6 separate regions of the Homo sapiens genome follow, and regions 1, 3, 4, 5 and 6 are each linked to region 2. Evidence: promoter capture Hi-C in 16 types of primary human blood cells and fetal thymus (Javierre and others, 2016). All regions are on one chromosome and are shown on one strand. The core of a region is centred on a gene start or on the middle of the fragment in contact, and the rest is flanking DNA. Distances in the headings are between cores, read along the strand shown.

Region 1 (2,700 bases), core at 42-2,541, 550 kb after region 2:
TTCAACATGAAAACCTCTTTCTTCTTACAGATTTCAGAGACAACTGTCTGAACCCTGCCACCCCTTCCCTCCTCAGCCAGGAGTTCCTGGAGATAATCGCCCCAGTTACCATCGGCAAATGTCAGAACCTATTGTCCCTGCAGCTCCCCCGCCCCCTCAGGGATTCAAACAAGAATACCATGACCCACTCTATGAACATGGGGTCCCGGGCATGCCAGGGCCCCCAGCACACGGGTTCCAGTCACCAATGGGAATCAAGCAGGAGCCTCGGGATTACTGCGTCGATTCAGGTCAGCATCAAATTGTGCTATTCTTTGCTTCATTCTTGCATTCTTCTGTCTCGTTATTCAGTGTCTTATACATGCAGGGCCTTGGGGACAGGAATTTTTATAAGAATTTTTTATAATTTTTATAAGAATTGCCCTCAAATAACTTAGGAGCTAGTAGAGCTGACATGTTTATGCGCAATGGAATACAAAACAAAACAGAAAAGCTATGTAAGTGGTAGGAAGTGCGGTAGGCATTCAGAAGTGGTATGAAGTACATCTCTGAGTCCAAGCCTGGAGAGTGTTGGGGTTCAGTTTTGGATGGAATTTGCTCGACCTTCTCTGAGATAATACATAGATTGATCTATTCAGGCACCAGTTGGTTATGGGAAATGCTGAGGAAATAGGCAGAAGGGAGAGACCTGTTGCTTTATGACAGAAAAATTACCAAGTGTGAGGTAGTGATCGTGTGTAAACATTTCCATCAGCATTCCTCTGGAAAGCTTTGATGTATTTTTCTCAGGAGTAGCATGAACAGCAACATTTTTTCCTTTAAGACTGACATTTTGATCTGTCCTGATGGGTTTTGCACCCCACTCCACTCCCTTAAAGCAAGACACTCAACAGAGGTTACCATATCTGTAATTCTTTGATCTGAGTTGTATTGCCAGGGTGATGGCTCATCCCACATGGACACAACTCAAATTACTGTCTTTCGTCTCGATGGACACTGATAACATGATGGCTGAAGAAGAGATCACTTGAGTGTGGTTTGGTTTCAGTATGACAGCCCCAGCATGGCAAAAATGGACCAAACTGCAATCCTCTACCCCTTCCAATGCTGGTCCTGGCTTCCTAACTTCAGGTCCCCTAATCCCTTTGGCCTAAAAATACTCCCACCTGTTGGAGCAAAATTAGATGTGACCACCAGCAGTAAAGGGGAGCAAATTAGAAAAGATCTAAAGCAGTCCTCTTCCCGTTCCCACCCTAACACCCAGGAGTCAGCATGGGCAAGAGGCCAGGCTTGGCCTTTTGAAAGCCAGTATTTTTTCCCCTGCCATTGGCTCTTTCACCAGATTTAGTGTTAACACATTTCTAAAATAAGTGAACAATGAGAGTGAAACATCTTTTTTTTCCTCCCGTGACTCTTGATTAGGAGAGCCTGCCTTTCAGCTGGTGGGTTATGGTGTTTGCCATCTTGCTTATTGGTGTGGCACCTCTTTCCCAGGACAAAGCCAGAAAGACATGACCCCAGAGCAGGAAGTTTAGGGGCTTTACCACAGAGCTGCAGTTGACCGATGTGCTGTTTCTGCTGCAGAAACTATTGACAGGATTGTGTCCACCTTTGCTTTCCTTTCAGAAGTGCCTAACTGCCAGTCATCCTACATGAGAGGGGGTTATTTCTCCAGCAGCCATGAAGGTAAGGAACCTGCTTTTCTTTCCTCTTCTCTCCTCTCTCCTCTCCTTTCTTCCTTTCTTTCTCTCGGCTTTTCTTTCTCCTACCTTCCTTCCTTCCTCTTTCTTTGCTTGACTAATACCCAAGCTTAAAATTGCTCAGTTTCCAGGCTAAGATTTGAGATCATAGTTTAAACCTTGCTTAGCTCATGAATATGAGAGCTGATTGATTGTAATCTTCAATTATTTTGCACGCAGGGTTTCAAGCATGCCCCTAAGCCCTGTGAGGGCTGCCATTTTCATTAGCAATGACCCCAACTTTTTAACAGTATAGGACAATTTGGAGAAAAAACAAACCCACCTTATTTCCACATTTCCAGAAATGGAGGTTATGTTTATATAACACTATCAGCTGAAACTGGAATTTAGGAGTTATGTCAGTGAGGGTGGTTTTTATATGTTTTACAGTTATGTCAGTGAGGGTCCAAGGATGTCTTAGAGTTTTAAAAATGTGTCTCTAGGTTTTTTACTTAGTTTGAGTGCTTGGGTGGGTAACTCTTCATTGTAATTATTATTATATGATAAATGGTTGCCATTTTTAACATGGGAGGGAAATTGAAGGTATTCTTCACCAACCTTGAGGGGGCTGGTGGGGAAGTGAGCTAGCAGGGGGTAGGGAGTACTGGGGATGGGAGTGGAGAGGTATGTTATGTACAAAATGCATTATTGAAGGACACAAATGTTTTCTCATTGGATTTTTAAAAAATACCTCAAAGGAGAAACATGAGAACAGATATAAAGCAGTTTACCCACAAGCCTGGATTATCACATATCCTAACATTTATTTTTATGTGAAGATGATCGTTTTATATCAAGGGTGTATGCTGTCTGCTCAAGTTCTTGTGCCCTATCCCTTTGGGACCAACTTAATTCAGTAAGTCTCTGAGATCATCTCACTCTAATTAGGAGCAGGAGCAGTAGGCAAGGTTGAGCCTGTGACTTTGCCTTCATTAGTGCTGACCTACTAATTAGGGTGAAA
Region 2 (2,725 bases), core at 63-2,562:
AGGTTGAACCATTAAAACGGCCAATATTTGGTTGCTTTTGATATAGAAAAATGGCAGTTTTATATGGTTCAACCTAATATCTCTGGTTCTTGTCCAAGGAAGGCTTGTAATACATATTTGCTGAAAGAATTGTCCTTAATCAGAAATAAATCTAATTTCAAAACAGGCAGTAGGCAGACAGCTTCTTTCCACCTCTCCAAATCTCTTGACTGATCCCCGAGGCATATTTCCAGCTTGATTTTTCTTGTCACTGGCTTCAAGCTGCGTTGGTTTCCTGTCTAGTGTGTGAGGAGGTGAATTGTGTTTATGCCAAGACTTCTCTCTGGGATGTGGGTAACTCTCTTTGGGAGGCAGTTTGTGTAGAAGAAGGAACACAGATATGGAATCAAATCCCAGCCTGAAGACTTAGTAATTATATGATTTTGGACCAAAAAAAAAAAGACAAAAACAAAAAACAAAAAAACTGCACACACACACACAACAGAGCCTTGGTCTCCTCTTGGGTAAGACAAGAACAATATATGTACCACACAGCACCAGGAGGCAGGACCGGGAAAGAGTAAATGAGATAATCTATGTGAATGGGCCTGGCATATAGTAGGCATCTGCCAGATGCTAGTTTTATTCATTCTCAGTCTTTGTTAGAGAGAAACCAAACCAAAGACAGATACGTGATTTTCAGCCAGTGGTAACTTGGCAACTAGGAGCTGGTCTCTTGGGTCCTAGTTTTTCCAGCAAGTTACACTTTCTGTCTGTGATCTGCACACTACCATTTGAAGCACTTTTTCTCCTGCACACCACCTCACACCCCACCCAGCTCCCTCCTGACACCCATGACTGCCATACAGAATGTCTCCTCTCCTGCCCTCTGCCTGCCCCTTCCCTCACTCCTGGGAAGAAATCAGAGAATTTACTCCTCTGTGGTTTCATTTGCACTGGGTGATGGTGATTTTTTGAGGCACCTGATTGAGCTCCATGTACACATTATTTCAGCTCATAGACAGCAGGTCCACTTACCTGAGGCCACACCTTTACTTCATCAATCTGGTTCAAGGTGTGTTTGTATCCCCAAGGAAGGTTTTGATTGATGTAGTCTATAGCCACCAGAGCTGCTTCCTCAGTTTCTGGATCATCGCAGTTCGGTTGTCTATAAATCAGCCCTGGGCCATGTGGGGCTGAGTGGCAGCCCCAGAGCTGAGCAAGACAAAGGAGCAGGACGAGGGACTTCATGGCTGCCCCAGAGAGGCCCTGGCAGGCGTGCAGGTGGTTGGAGGCTTCGGGACCAACCCAGGTGCTCTGCTGGGAAAGGTAGACCCATGGAGGGTGGTGGGCTTTATTTATCTGTTGGAGCCTGCCGGAAGAATTGCATAAGGATACAGGATGATTTCTGCTTTGGTTCAAAAGAAAAAAAAAAACACCCTGCAAACATCAGCCCTGGAAAAGCAAACAGGTTAGGACATCGCTGGTCCCCAAGAAATCTGCCAAAGTCCATGCTGCTGTGGGGGAGATGCTCCAAAGTCTGCTTGGAACATGGTAATAGCAGCAAAGAGAAGACAGCTGAGGGAATGAGGTGGACACAGTCAGCCTCAGAGTGCCATGGGTTTGGCAGCAGAGGAAATGTCTTCTACTGTGATCTGAGCATGCCATGGGGTCTGTGAGAGGGAAGGGAGGATACTCAGCAATTTGATAAAATTCTCCAATGTCAGGGGGAGTTAGCTTTCCAAGAGGAGTCCTACAGGGAGAACAAGGCCCACAGATATAGCAAAGGTACAGATGTGTATAGGAGATGCCAAGATTTTGGGGGAAGATTCTTGGAGAAAAGAAAAAGGATGAGAGATGTTTCTGCCTAAAGTGGGGAATGGAGGTGGAAGAAGGGGGTTCCCGTGGCAGGACCACGGTGGGAAATGACCAGCAAAACGTGTGGGGTTCCCTGCCCCTTCTCTTCCTTCTCCAGACCTCACTGCCAGGGCCCTGCATGTGACAGCACAGATGGGCACTGACCAGAGTCTCCTAGCACTAGTAACCTAGTGCCCCTGCCAGTGCACAAGGGCAGCAGAGGGGAGTCCTGACTCATTTGACACAGCTCTGGGTTCGAGTCTGACACCGCAGGCTGAGATGCTGCACGAGCAGCTACGGACACAAATACCCCTTGAACATTCTTTGCAGACTCAGCAGAATTACAGTGTGTCTTTCTGGCCAGAACAGAGGGCCAGTGTTGACTCCAGGCACTGCCTATTAAGTGACCCTTGACAATTCCAAGTGTGACATCCAAGGAGGGTTGGCAGGATAAAGAGAGGCTTGGGAAATATCACACAAGGACCTGGTTTGGTTTAGTCTGAAGCAAAGAAGCCCTCTCATGGAGACCAACATGGTCTTCAAATATTTAGAGGCCATCATTGTGTGTGGGTGAATTTGTTCTAATGTTTGATATTGCTTCAGAGAAAAAAAAACTGGTTAAAAAAAAAAGAAAGAAGAGGGGCCCCTCCAAAGGGAAGCTTAATATTGATTTTCTGGGGTGAGAATCGGGGTGAGGGAGGTGAAGTGAGTGGTGATGGGGCAGAGAAGGTAGTTGGCAGGACTGTTCTCACATTTACTCCCAGCTGCTCACACACCACACCGAATCTTAATGTCAGAAGCTCAGAAGGTGTGGCCAGGACTCCAGGTTCTCTCCAAGAGGGGGACCATGATTCTTCCAGATGAAAAACAAACTCTGGTCATCCAGCAA
Region 3 (2,890 bases), core at 388-2,887, 670 kb after region 2:
ATTTATAACTTCCAAATGTATAATAAGATTTTAAAGAATATCCAGTTTTATATTTGTATATTCAACTGCCTACTTGACAACTTCTACTTTGATGTTTCAAAGCATCTCAAACTTAATTCAAAATCAAACTCTTGTCCCTTTAGCCCTGCCCAAACTCCTTCTTCCTCAAGTTTCCCCATCTCAGTATGGGGCACCATAGACCCTCTTGAGTTCTTGACATCTCCATCCCCTTACCCTATTACAAGTCCACTCAATTCTGGACTCAAAATAGATCTACCACTGCCCTTTTTTCTCTATCTCCTTTGCTATTACTGTGTTGCAATGGTCTCTTACCTGGACAAATGCAATAGCTTCCTAACTGGTATCCTAGCTTTTACCTCCTTCCAACCCATTCTCCATCCAATGGGGAATGTAATCTTATAAAAATAAAAACTGAGTCAAGACATTCCCCCTAATTAAAACATTTCGATAGCTTCCCATTGCATTTATTTAATTATTTATTTATTTTTGAGGCAAAGTCTCACTCTATTGCCCAGGCTGGAGTGCAGTGGCACGATCTTGGCTAACTGCAACCTCTGCCTCCCGGGTTCAAGAGATTCTCCTGCCTCAGCTTTCCGAGTAGCTGGGGTTACAGGTGCCTGCCACCACGCCTGGCTAATTTTTGTATTTTTTTAATAGAGGCGGGGTTTCGCCATGTTGGCCAGGCTGGTCTCGAACTCCTGACTTCAAGTGACCCATCCACCTGCCTTGGCCTCCCAAAGTGCTGGAATTACAGGTGTGAACCACCGTGCCCAGCCCCCACTGCACTTAAATAACATCTGACATCCTTTCCATGACCTGCATAATCACTGCTGACTTATTATGAGTTAGACATTGTTCTAAGGGCTTTTTATGTAAAATAGTAATTCTTTGGATCCTGACAACAAGCATAGGAAGTAGGTATTATTATCATTCCTATTTCACAGATGAAGCCACAGAGGCACAGAGGTTACACTTGCCCAGGGTCTCTCAGAGAGCTACTGTGGAGGCAGGAAACAACCCCAGGAAGTCCAAGCCCTGCTCTCTGTACCACAGTCTCTGGTCCTCAGATGGACCCACTGGGATCCCATGGTTGGGTCTCTCTGTTCCTGGAACCCGACAAACATCCTCACCCCAGTGCCTTTGTGACCTTGCTAATCCCTTCCCAGGAACACAGTTTTCTCTGCTTTTTAAATGGCTGGCTTCTCACCCTCCAGGTCTCCATAAATAGGAATGGTATAATAGGTTATGGCACATATTTGCAACGGAATACCATACAACTGTTTTAAAATATGAGATAAATCTATGTGTACTGACGTGGAACAATATTTAGCATATTTTAGATTGCTAAGTGAAAAAGGCAAGTTACAGAATACCATGTTAAAATTTAAAAATATGAGCGGGGCATGGTGGCTCATGCCTGCAATCCCAGCACTTTGGGATGCTGAGGCGGGTGGGTCACCTGAAGTCAGGAGTTCGAGACAACAGCCTGAGCAACAGAGTGAGACTCTGTCTCAAAAAAATAATAAATAAAAATTAAAAAATAAAAAATATGTATAGCATGATTCCATTTGTTTATGAAAAGAAAATTTTAAGGCTGGGCTCAGTGGCTCATGCCTGTAATCCCAGCACTTTGGGAGGCCGAGGCGGGTGGATCGTGAGGTCAGGAGATCGAGACCATCCTGGCTAGCATGGTGAAACCCCATCTCTACCAAAAATACAAAAAATTAGCCGGGTGTGGTGGCAGGCACCTGTAGTCCCAGCTACTTGGGAGGCTGAGGCAGGAGAATGGCATGAACCCGGGAGGCGGAGCTTGCAGTGAGCCGAGATCTTGCCACTGCACTCCAGCCTGGGAGACAGCAAGACTCCGTCTCAAAATAAATAAATAAATAATAAAAAAATAAAAATAAAAATTTAAATTTATCTATCTAAGGTCTAGAAGGTTATGCACTACATTTTTTAACTAGGGTGACCTCTGAGGAGCGAGACTGGGAAAGAGAGGATAGAAAATAGGGTTTGCATTTTTCACTTTGCACATTTCTTATTGTTTGAATTTTTATCCCCACCCTATATTAGTAACATAATAATAATTCTAAGACAAAACATTTTCTTCATATGTTTAATGTTTGAGCTCTAAATTTTGTTATTTGGGTATTCTAATTTTTATTCTCTTCCTCTCTTTCCCAGATTTATCTTAAGTATCTGGAGAAAGTCTTTTATTTCATTCTTCTCTCTCTCTCTTTTTTTTTTTATTTTTTTGAGAAGGAGTCTTGCTTTGTCGCCCAGGCCGGACTGCAGTGGCGCTATCTCGGCTCACTGCAAGCTCCGCCTCCCGGGTTCATGCCATTCTCCTGCCTCAGCCTCCTGAGTAGCTGGGATTACAGGTGCCCGCCACGGCGCCCGGCTAATTTTTTGTATTTTTAGTAGAGACGGGGTTTCACCGAGTTAGCCAAGATGGTCTCGATCTCCTGACCTCATGATCCGCCCACCTCGGCCTCCCAAAGTGCTGGGATTACAGGTGTGAGCCACCGCACCCGGCCTCTCTCTCTTTTTTTTTTTTTTTTTTTTTTTTTTTGAGACAGAGTTTCACTCTTGTCACCCAGGCCGGAGTGTAATGGTACGATGTCTGCTCACTGCAACCTCTGCCTCCCAGGTTCAAGTGATTCTCATGCCTTGGCCTCCCGAGTAGCTGGGATTACAGGCATGCACCACCACGCCCGGCTAATTTTTGTATTTTTTAGTAAAGACAGTGTTTCACAATGTTAGCCAGACTGGTCTCGAACTCCTGACCTTAGGTGATCCACCTTTTTTAGGGTTCAGAACATTGAAAGTGATTGGTTGTTTCAACTCAATTATCTACAATACGTAGCCA
Region 4 (2,806 bases), core at 236-2,735, 680 kb after region 2:
ACCATTGTGTCCATTTGTTTTTGTTTTCCCCCTTGACCAAAGCATCTGTGGGTCCTAATGTGTCTCCTCCTCGGGCCATAGGGAAGATGAGGAGGAGGCCGGCTTCTGTTCCTGAGAACAGGCAGTGTGTGAAAGACTGCCTTAATCAGAGGTCTGATTAATGCTAAGGGGAGTCAAAACAAGGAAGGGGATGACAGTGTTTCAGGAAGATAACCTTTGCCAAGGGAAAAAAATGAGTAGGAAGCATGTAACTTCTGAGGTTGACTAAGTCAAGTAAGTCAGACTTAACTAGTATGATAAACAGTGTTTTAAGAGATGCAGTGTTTATGAGCCACTATTTTAAATCTAACAAACCACATTCAGTTTTTAAAATAATACAGGGATTGGATGGTTAGTCCTTTCAAATATGTTTTTGTAAGGTGGTTGCTGTTCTCAGAATAGGGAGATGTGGATTATTTTGTTGGAAGGCTAAGTGTGTTGTATTTTTACTTGATGTATTCCCTTTAGGTTTTGTATTAGGATGTGGCTGAGATCCAGTCTGTGAGAGCTTGATTGATTTCCTGAGCATTTTTTCAGGGAAATTTTGGTTTTATTCATGCTAATTTTAGTTTCATGGTCCCTTTTTTTGAGGCAGTGGTGTCCAGTTCTGTCTGTTGGTGTGGTTTTAATGTGTTGACCATGTCAGCCCTGAGAGTGGAATTTGAAGTATGCTTAGATTTAGGGACTTCCCCAACTGGTTTTTATAGCTTTACCTGTCTGCATTGAGATTTAAAGTTAATTATGCTTTTGATTTGGGTGCTAATTTTAGGTCTTATTTCTTGTAGGCAAGTTTTATTCCCTTGCCATATGTATTTCCCAGCCAGTTAAATGGCCAAAATAACTTCAGAAAGCTTTAACTTCTTTAAGAAAATATCCCTGATAAAGGATCGAGACGTTTAGGTGTTACCCAAACAAGTGTCAGTATAGAAAAGGAAGCCTTTGCATTCTGGTATTTCCCTTATTCCTGGCCCAAGAAATGATTGCTTACAAAATATATCTGCATAGTCCGTTAGTTTTGGAGGCTGAGTGAAAACTCCTGTGATTTCAGAAATATTGTATCTGTGATCTGCTAGATTTTAAGGAGAAAACTTCATTAAGTCTTATTTTCTAGGTTAGGAGTACTGTCTCTTCCCTCAGTGGACAGGCTGCCGAAGCATCTTAGCTTAGAATAAAGGTTTTTCTGTTAAAGCCAGGAGCTTAAAGAGGATCTTGACTTGACCCATTCTTCCTTTATACTCAGATTCCTGGGCTGACTGATTTCTGTTAACTACAGTTACTTTATTGGTAGTCTTAACTGTTACTGTGAAACACCCATATTCTGCTTTCACTTCTGGAGAAAATTGTTTCATTTCCATAGAGGTAATCTTTCTAGTGTTGGAGTAAACAGGCTTTTAGCAACTTTTGGGTTCCCCATTTCTATATTCTCACCTATGTTAATTTTTGCCTGTGGTAAAAATAGCAAAAACTACACCCTCATTTTTGAGACTTCCTCCTTTGTCCATGGAGAGAAGGGAAGTGTCCGTTCAGAATACTTGATAGGGAATTCCAAGGGATTGTTGTTAATTGGAAGCCCCAGAGCATCACTACATCCTTTAACCATTTCTTGATGTTAAAGGCAGCTGTTCATATATTTTTCTTTTAATCTTTTTACAGTCAGTCATGGAGGGAGGTAGAGGGGAAAGGCTGTCACATTTCATGTCACCCCACCATGTTTTATAATGGCTTTGAAGTCATTTGAACGTTTCTAGAGTCGTCTGGGGCCTAGAGACCTGAACTCATTTTACTGGATGAGTTAGCCTTTCCTTCTGTGTTAAACCTCAAACCTTAATTTGTCTATTCTGTGTTACATTATAAATGTTTTCCCTGAGCATCAAAGGATCATCCAAATTTTCTCCATTATGTTGTAAACCACAAAACTATCTTCTAAAGTGTTTTGAGCTGTAATTTAGAATAATCCTCTACTGTCCTTTCAAGAATGTCCAGAATACTCTGAAGATGTATCACACAAGGAAATCTCTTGTGATTTTATCTGAAAGCTTCACCTTTGATTCATGCCATATAGTGACTTACTGTAATACTGCTTCCTTTTGAGTCTTGCCATTTCTGCTCTCTGGAGTAGAAAGGCTTACCAGGCTTTACTTTGTCTAAGTTTGATAACCTAAAATAAAGGTTGCCTTGATAATTTTACCTAGCTATCAGACTGACTAGGAGTAGGTTCTGTCCTTTCCTCATCTACTGTTTTGGTGCCTTGGCAGAACTTTTCCTTGGTTTCATTACTTAGTATACCCTTTTGTTGATTATGTGTCTTTAGCTCGTTGGTGACCTAGTTATCCTGGTTACCATTCCTTTGCTATTTTTCATTACAAATCCCCCCTTAACCTGCCAGCCAATCCCAGTTTTGGTTGGGAAAGCTATGAGTACACAATGTTTACCTAAACTTTGGCTTTTGTATGTAGTTTCTGTACTCTTTTGCTTCCTGGGCCCTAGGTTAGGAGCTCCTGATTTAGCTGCCTGGTTTTGATGTGTACTTAAGTAACTAGGTAAGTTAGGTTAATTCCTGGTTTTCCATAAGTTTGCCCTGGCTCATCTCCATTTAGCTGGAGAAGCTGTGGAGGATCTCTGACACCCTCTCTACTCTTATTTGTGTGTAGTTCGCTGTTCTGTTGTAGCTCCATCTGGTTGCTTTCAGTTTTTTAGGGGGCCTCCCACCATGGTTAGATGCAATAGGGTTTTACAGGGTTTAGTGTCCTTCAAGCTAGCCTTTGCT
Region 5 (2,700 bases), core at 111-2,610, 700 kb after region 2:
CTCACACCAGTTAGAATGGCGATCTTTAAAAAGTCAGGAAACAAAGGTGCTGAAGAGGATGTGGAGAAATAGGAACACTTTTACACTGTTGGTGGGACTGTAAACTAGTTCAACCATTGTGGAAGAGTGTGGTAATTCCTCAAGGATCTAGAATTAGAAATACCATTTGACCCCGCCATCCCATTACTGTATATACCCAAAGGATTATAAATCATGCTGCTATAAAGACACATGTACATGTATGTTTATTGTAGTACTATTCACAACAGCAAAGACTTGGAACCAACCCAAATGTCCATCAATGATAGACTGGATTAAGAAAATGTGGCACATATACACCATGGAATACTATGCAGCCATAAAAACGGATGAGTTCATGTTCTCTGTAGGGACATGCATGAAGCTAGAAACCATCATTCTCAGCAAACTATTGCAAGGACAAAAAACCACCACACGTTCTCACTCATAGGTGGGAACTGAACAATGAGAACACTTGGACACAGGAAGGGGAACATCATACACCGGGGCCTGTCATGGGGTTGGGGGAGGGTGGAGGGGTAGCATTAGGAGATATACGTAATGTAAATGAGTTAATGGATGCAGTACACCAACATGGAACATATATACATATGTAACAAACCTGCACGTTGTGCACATGTACCCTAGAACTTAAATAAATAAAAAAAAAATACACTTGTCTAGAAGACAGGAGACTTCATTATATTACTCTCTTTACAATTAATTAATGTAAGACCGTTTAAAATATGCCTAATTTTCCAGGCATTGGTTTGCTTTTCTATAAAATGGGAGGATAGAAAATAACTTCCAAATTCTTACAAATCTAAGAATCTTTGGATTTAGATATGGAAATTCATAATTATTGAGATGGAGTCTCGTTACTATGCAATATAGCAAAGTTGGAAATAAATTCTAAATTTTATTTCATTTATATTGATCAATAAATTGTTACATTTCAAAAAAATGCAAGAGGCATTTGGAAAAAAGGACAAATAGGAATTTGTGAAAGACTATGGGAGTTAATGGGAAAGGAAGAGTTGCTGACTGCGAGCCTGGGCTCCTGGCCGCTCGCAGTGGCCCTGTTAAAAATGAGAAGAAAGAAAGAAGTTGGTTTGAGGGAGAAGATTTGCCCTTGACTTTACCTTTGTTGAGCTTTATAGAAGTTACTGGTGATAGCTGAAGCCTCTAATCCCAGTACTTTGGAAGGCTGAGGCAGGCGGATCACTTGAGGCCAGGAGTTCGAGACCAGCCTGGCCAACATGGTGAAACCCCATCTCTACTAAAGTACAAAAAAGAAACCTAGCAGGGCGTGGTGGTGCGTGCCTGTAGTCCCAGCTACTCGGGAGGCTGAGGCAGGAGAATCACTTGAACCTGGGAGGCGGGGTTTGCAGTGAGCCAGATCATGCCACTGCACCCCAGCCTGGGAGACAGAGCAAGATTCTGTCTCAAAAAAATAATAAATAAGTAAAAGTTAAACATAGAATTACCATACAACTCAGCAATTCTACTCCTGGGTTTATACCCAAAAAATCGTAAACATAGGTTCACACAAAAATTTGTACGTGGATGTTCATAGCAGCATTATTAGTGATAGCCGAAAAACAGAAACACCCCAAATGTTCCTTCAGCTGATGAATTGATTAATAAAATGTGATATATCCGGGCCGGGCGCGGTGGCTCACGCCCGTAATCACAGCACTTTAGGAGGATGAGACGGGCGGATCACAAGGCCAGGAGATCGAGACCATCCTGGCTAACATGGTGAAACCCCGTCTCTACTAAAAATACAGAAAATTAGCCGGGTGCGGTGGCGGGCGCCTGTAGTCCCAGCTACTCCAAAGGCTGAGGCAGGAGAATGGCGTGAACCTGGGAGGCAGAGCTTGCAGTGAGCCGAGATCGCGCCACTGCACTCCGGACTGGGCGACAGAGCGAGACTCCGTCTCAATAAATAAATAAATAAATAAATAAATAAATAAATAAAGTGATATATCTATACAATGGAATATTATTTGGCAATAAAAAGGAATGAAGTAATGATACATGCTGACATGAATGAACCTTCAAAACATTTTAAGTGAAAGGAACCAGTCACAAAAGACCATATATTACATGATTTAATATATATGAAATATGCAGAACAGAGAGTTCTATGCAGAGAAAGTAGACTAGTAGTTTCCTAGGCACGGCAATTTGCAGGAGGAAGGGGAAGTGACTGCTAATAGGTATGGCAGTCACTTTGGGCCTGAGGAAAAATATTCTAAAACTGATTGTAGTGATGGTCACTTAACTTTGTAAATATACTAAAAGCGATGGAATTTTGCACTTTAAGCAGACGGATTTCATCTTAATAAAGCTGTTAAGCACTTCCAGTCACCTAAAAACACTATTAAGAGAGTAGGGCCAGGAGTGGTGGCTGACACCTGTAATCCTAGCACTTTGGAAGGCTGAGGCAGGAGGATCCCTTGAGCCCAGTAGTTCGAGACCAGCCTGGGCAATATAAGGAAACTCTGTCTTTTAAAAGAAAGAAATAGGCTGGGCGTGGTGGCTCATGCCTGCAATCCCAGCACTTTGGGAGGCCGAGGTGGGCGGATCACTTGAGATCAGGAGTTCAAGACCACCCTGGCCAACATGGTGAAACCCTGTCTCTACTAAAAATACAAAAATTAGCCGGGTGTGGTGGTA
Region 6 (2,825 bases), core at 255-2,754, 580 kb before region 2:
TCATTCTAGGAAGAATAAATGGAAGCTTCCAGTCCTCCTTAAGGCTAGAGTCAGAAGTCCCATAACATCACTCCTGTCATATTCTGTTGATGAAAGCAATCACAGGGCCAGCCCGATATAGGGGAATGGGAAATAAACTTCAACTCTTGATGGGGAAATTGCCTGTGCCTATAGGAAGGGAAGGAATTGGTGGCAGCCATCTTTGGAGACTTTCTACCACAGTACCTGATTATTTTTCTTCATCCTTCAAAGAGCTTAGTGCCTTGAGAACACGATGTCCAATTCTATGATGTAGGTAGAGGTTGACATTATTTTGCAAAAAAAAAAAAAAAAAAAAGCAAACTAAGGATCAAAAAGGCAAAGTAGCCAAAGAGTAAACTAATCCAGCAAGTCCAATCCCAAAACATAGCCAGATAGGAACAGTAGGGCTGCTCCCTTTGGGTCAAAGCAAAGGAAAGCATTACAGGTACCCAGCCTGCCAGTACCACCCACCTCTGCATGCCCAGTCATGATTTATAAGAACCTCTTCCTTTGCTTCCCCTCCACCCCAACAGCAACCATTGAACTTCTTTTCCAAGCTCTTGCTCAATTTTGTGAGGCATATGTGCCTACCATCAGCGAGGGCCCTTCAGAGATATACAGCCCAAAATCCAAAGTCCCCCAGTCTTCATTCTCTTGAAGTTTTATCCCCATAAAACTCTGTGTTTTTTTTTTTCAGAGATGGGTTCTGTCTATGTTGCCCAAGTTACTCTTGAGCTCTCAGGCTCAAGCAATCCTCCTTTTCAGCCTCCTGAGTAGCTGGAATTATAGGCACACATCACTGTGCCCAGTCTATGTGTTTTGTTTTTTCTATGTTTGTTTTTTGAGACAGGGTCTCACTCTGTCACTCAGACTGGAGTGCAGTGGTTCAATCATGGTTCACTGCAGCCTCGATCTCCTGGGCTCAAGTGATCCACCCACATCAGCCTCCCAAATAACTGGAACTACAGGCATGCACCATCATGATCAGCTGATTTTTTAATTTTTTTTTTTTTTTTTTTTTTTTTTTTTTTTTTTTGTAGAGGTAGGGTCTCACTGTGTTGCCTCGGCTGGTCTCAAACTCCTGGGCTCACGTGATCTTCCCACCTCAGCCTCCCAAAGTTCTAAGACTACAGGCATGCACTACTGCCCAGTCTCTCTGCTTTTTTTTTTTTTTTCAAGTGCAAGATCTTGTCTTTGAGAAGAGCATTCATCAGAAAATGTTCTATGGATATTACCAAGGGAACAGTGCCATGGTCCAGGAAGTGAAGAAGGGCATACTTGAGAGAAATTATCAAGTCCTCAAAAACTAATTTCCCTATTTTCAGGATATTTGATCTAAAATAAAAGACAGCTTCCTTCCCCTTATTCTGAAGAAGGGGCAAGGCAACATTACATGTGGGGAAGCAACAATGTTATTCATTTATTTGTTTTTTAAAACACTCTGAATTATCAACTACCATGTGCCAGGCTCTATACTGGACACATGGGATATAGAGATAAATTAGTCTCACTCATTTCATGTCCAGTGAACATCAATAGCCAGGTGACCCACACTAACCCAGAGCCTTTGGCTTAGGACATGAAGACTGACCCTTAAGCATGTTCCTGTTGCCAAGCAGCCACTATTATGGGAACGTATCTTCAGACTGTACCCCCAAGAGATTCTTCCTGAAGCAGTTTTGGAAAGATATGCAACCGTTCAACCCTAATAACATTTCATGGAAGGTCTAGTAGGAAATGAAGTCACTGTACATTATCAGACCGTCTTACTGTGGTTGAATGGCATACTCATGGAGTTCAGAAGACAGGACACAACTTTCCTTTACTCTTCCATCAAATCTCCAATAGGTCCACTGAGAGTCCACCTAGAATGCATGTCCAGAACTTCCCCTTATTTTTTCTGGTCTCCTTTCTAGGTCTTCTCTTTGATCTCTTCTGCTCTTCTACTTTCTCTTCAGGACCTTGCTTCAACCTTCGGTGTAGAGTATCTATAAGCTAATAACCTTTCTCCCACTAATACTGACCACATTCCATTGCATAGCTGTCATTTCTTACTATGCTAACAAAGTTTATGTCCCTTTATTCTATTATATCAAAGACCTCTACTCACTAGGGTAAAAAGAAAGAAAGAAAGTGGAGGAAGGAGTAGAAAAAAATCCATTCTGATGCACACTTGCCCTCCTTCTGAGCATGATCTTTCCAAGAAAAGCAATAAAACAAGAAAACTTGGTCCTCTCTTTTGCAAATGAGAGGAAACCGCTCTGGACAGCAGATGTGTATTTCACAGTGGCCACAGAATAAACCTGAATCACATTTGCATTCAGTCACTTTGGCTGAGTCTCTACCATATGACCTGAAAATACAAAGATGTATAGAACAGAATTATGGAGTAAAAGGGATCTTGGAAATTATCTAGTCTAATCCTAATCAGATGTGCCAGTGACTCTGAGACATTTCATATGAAGACATAAATAGGTATAAAATAATCAGATTTTAATTTAGTGAGAAGATGGTTCTTCATATAGAATGAGGAGACTTCACTGTCTATCTTTAGACAGACCCAGTGATCTGGGATTAGGGTTGCCTCTGAAATTGAAGTAATAACCAATGCCTATTGAGAGCCAAGCAGTTACCTAGCCTGAATGTGAACATTTCCAGTGATGTGGAGCTCGTTATCCAGTGATAGCAGCACTCTCTAACCCCTGGCTATTAAGAAGCTCTTCTTTACTGAGTGCCACCATCTCACTTTCAAAACCTTGACTCTCTGTGCCTTGCAATAGAAAGCACTTAACAACGTGCCAGCC

Evidence for each region. Contacts are between HindIII fragments. The CHiCAGO score rates a contact against its expected background, and 5 or more counts as called.
Region 1: a fragment that was not itself captured here is called in contact with the fragment with the promoter of AHSG in region 2 in 1 of 17 cell types (activated CD4 T cells); the score reaches 5.0 in activated CD4 T cells.
Region 3: a fragment that was not itself captured here is called in contact with the fragment with the promoter of AHSG in region 2 in 11 of 17 cell types (activated CD4 T cells, non-activated CD4 T cells, naive CD4 T cells and 8 more); the score reaches 13.3 in activated CD4 T cells.
Region 4: a fragment that was not itself captured here is called in contact with the fragment with the promoter of AHSG in region 2 in 3 of 17 cell types (activated CD4 T cells, total CD4 T cells and naive CD4 T cells); the score reaches 7.0 in activated CD4 T cells.
Region 5: a fragment that was not itself captured here is called in contact with the fragment with the promoter of AHSG in region 2 in 6 of 17 cell types (naive CD8 T cells, activated CD4 T cells, total CD8 T cells and 3 more); the score reaches 9.4 in naive CD8 T cells.
Region 6: a contact is called between a fragment that was not itself captured here and the fragment with the promoter of AHSG in region 2, in 2 of 17 cell types (total B cells and naive B cells). The highest score is 5.9, in total B cells.

The regions. Positions count from the first base shown.
Region 1 is chr3:186,063,403-186,066,102 of GRCh38, reverse strand. It overlaps ETV5 (ETS variant transcription factor 5), which reads left to right. Exons shown (of 13, transcript NM_004454.3): 8 at 31-290; 9 at 1,627-1,686. Among named protein-coding and RNA genes, the nearest start is that of ETV5-AS1, 14 kb to the left of the region's middle. The HindIII fragment of the contact is 1,040 bases long and covers 772-1,811 here.
Region 2 is chr3:186,611,647-186,614,371 of GRCh38, reverse strand. It overlaps AHSG (alpha 2-HS glycoprotein), which reads right to left and starts at 1,312. Exons shown (of 7, transcript NM_001622.4): 1 at 1,018-1,312. The coding sequence starts at 1,230. The HindIII fragment of the contact is 5,898 bases long and covers 1-2,497 here.
Region 3 is chr3:185,944,632-185,947,521 of GRCh38, reverse strand. No RefSeq gene overlaps it. Among named protein-coding and RNA genes, the nearest start is that of TRA2B, 8.1 kb to the right of the region's middle. The HindIII fragment of the contact is 4,953 bases long and covers 1-2,890 here.
Region 4 is chr3:185,927,286-185,930,091 of GRCh38, reverse strand. The region is part of intron 1 of TRA2B (transformer 2 beta homolog); the gene reads left to right. Among named protein-coding and RNA genes, the nearest start is that of TRA2B, 9.3 kb to the left of the region's middle. The HindIII fragment of the contact is 1,185 bases long and covers 893-2,077 here.
Region 5 is chr3:185,907,771-185,910,470 of GRCh38, reverse strand. No RefSeq gene overlaps it. Among named protein-coding and RNA genes, the nearest start is that of TRA2B, 29 kb to the left of the region's middle. The HindIII fragment of the contact is 3,858 bases long and covers 1-2,700 here.
Region 6 is chr3:187,189,170-187,191,994 of GRCh38, reverse strand. No RefSeq gene overlaps it. Among named protein-coding and RNA genes, the nearest start is that of RTP1, 6.9 kb to the left of the region's middle. The HindIII fragment of the contact is 2,953 bases long and covers 28-2,825 here.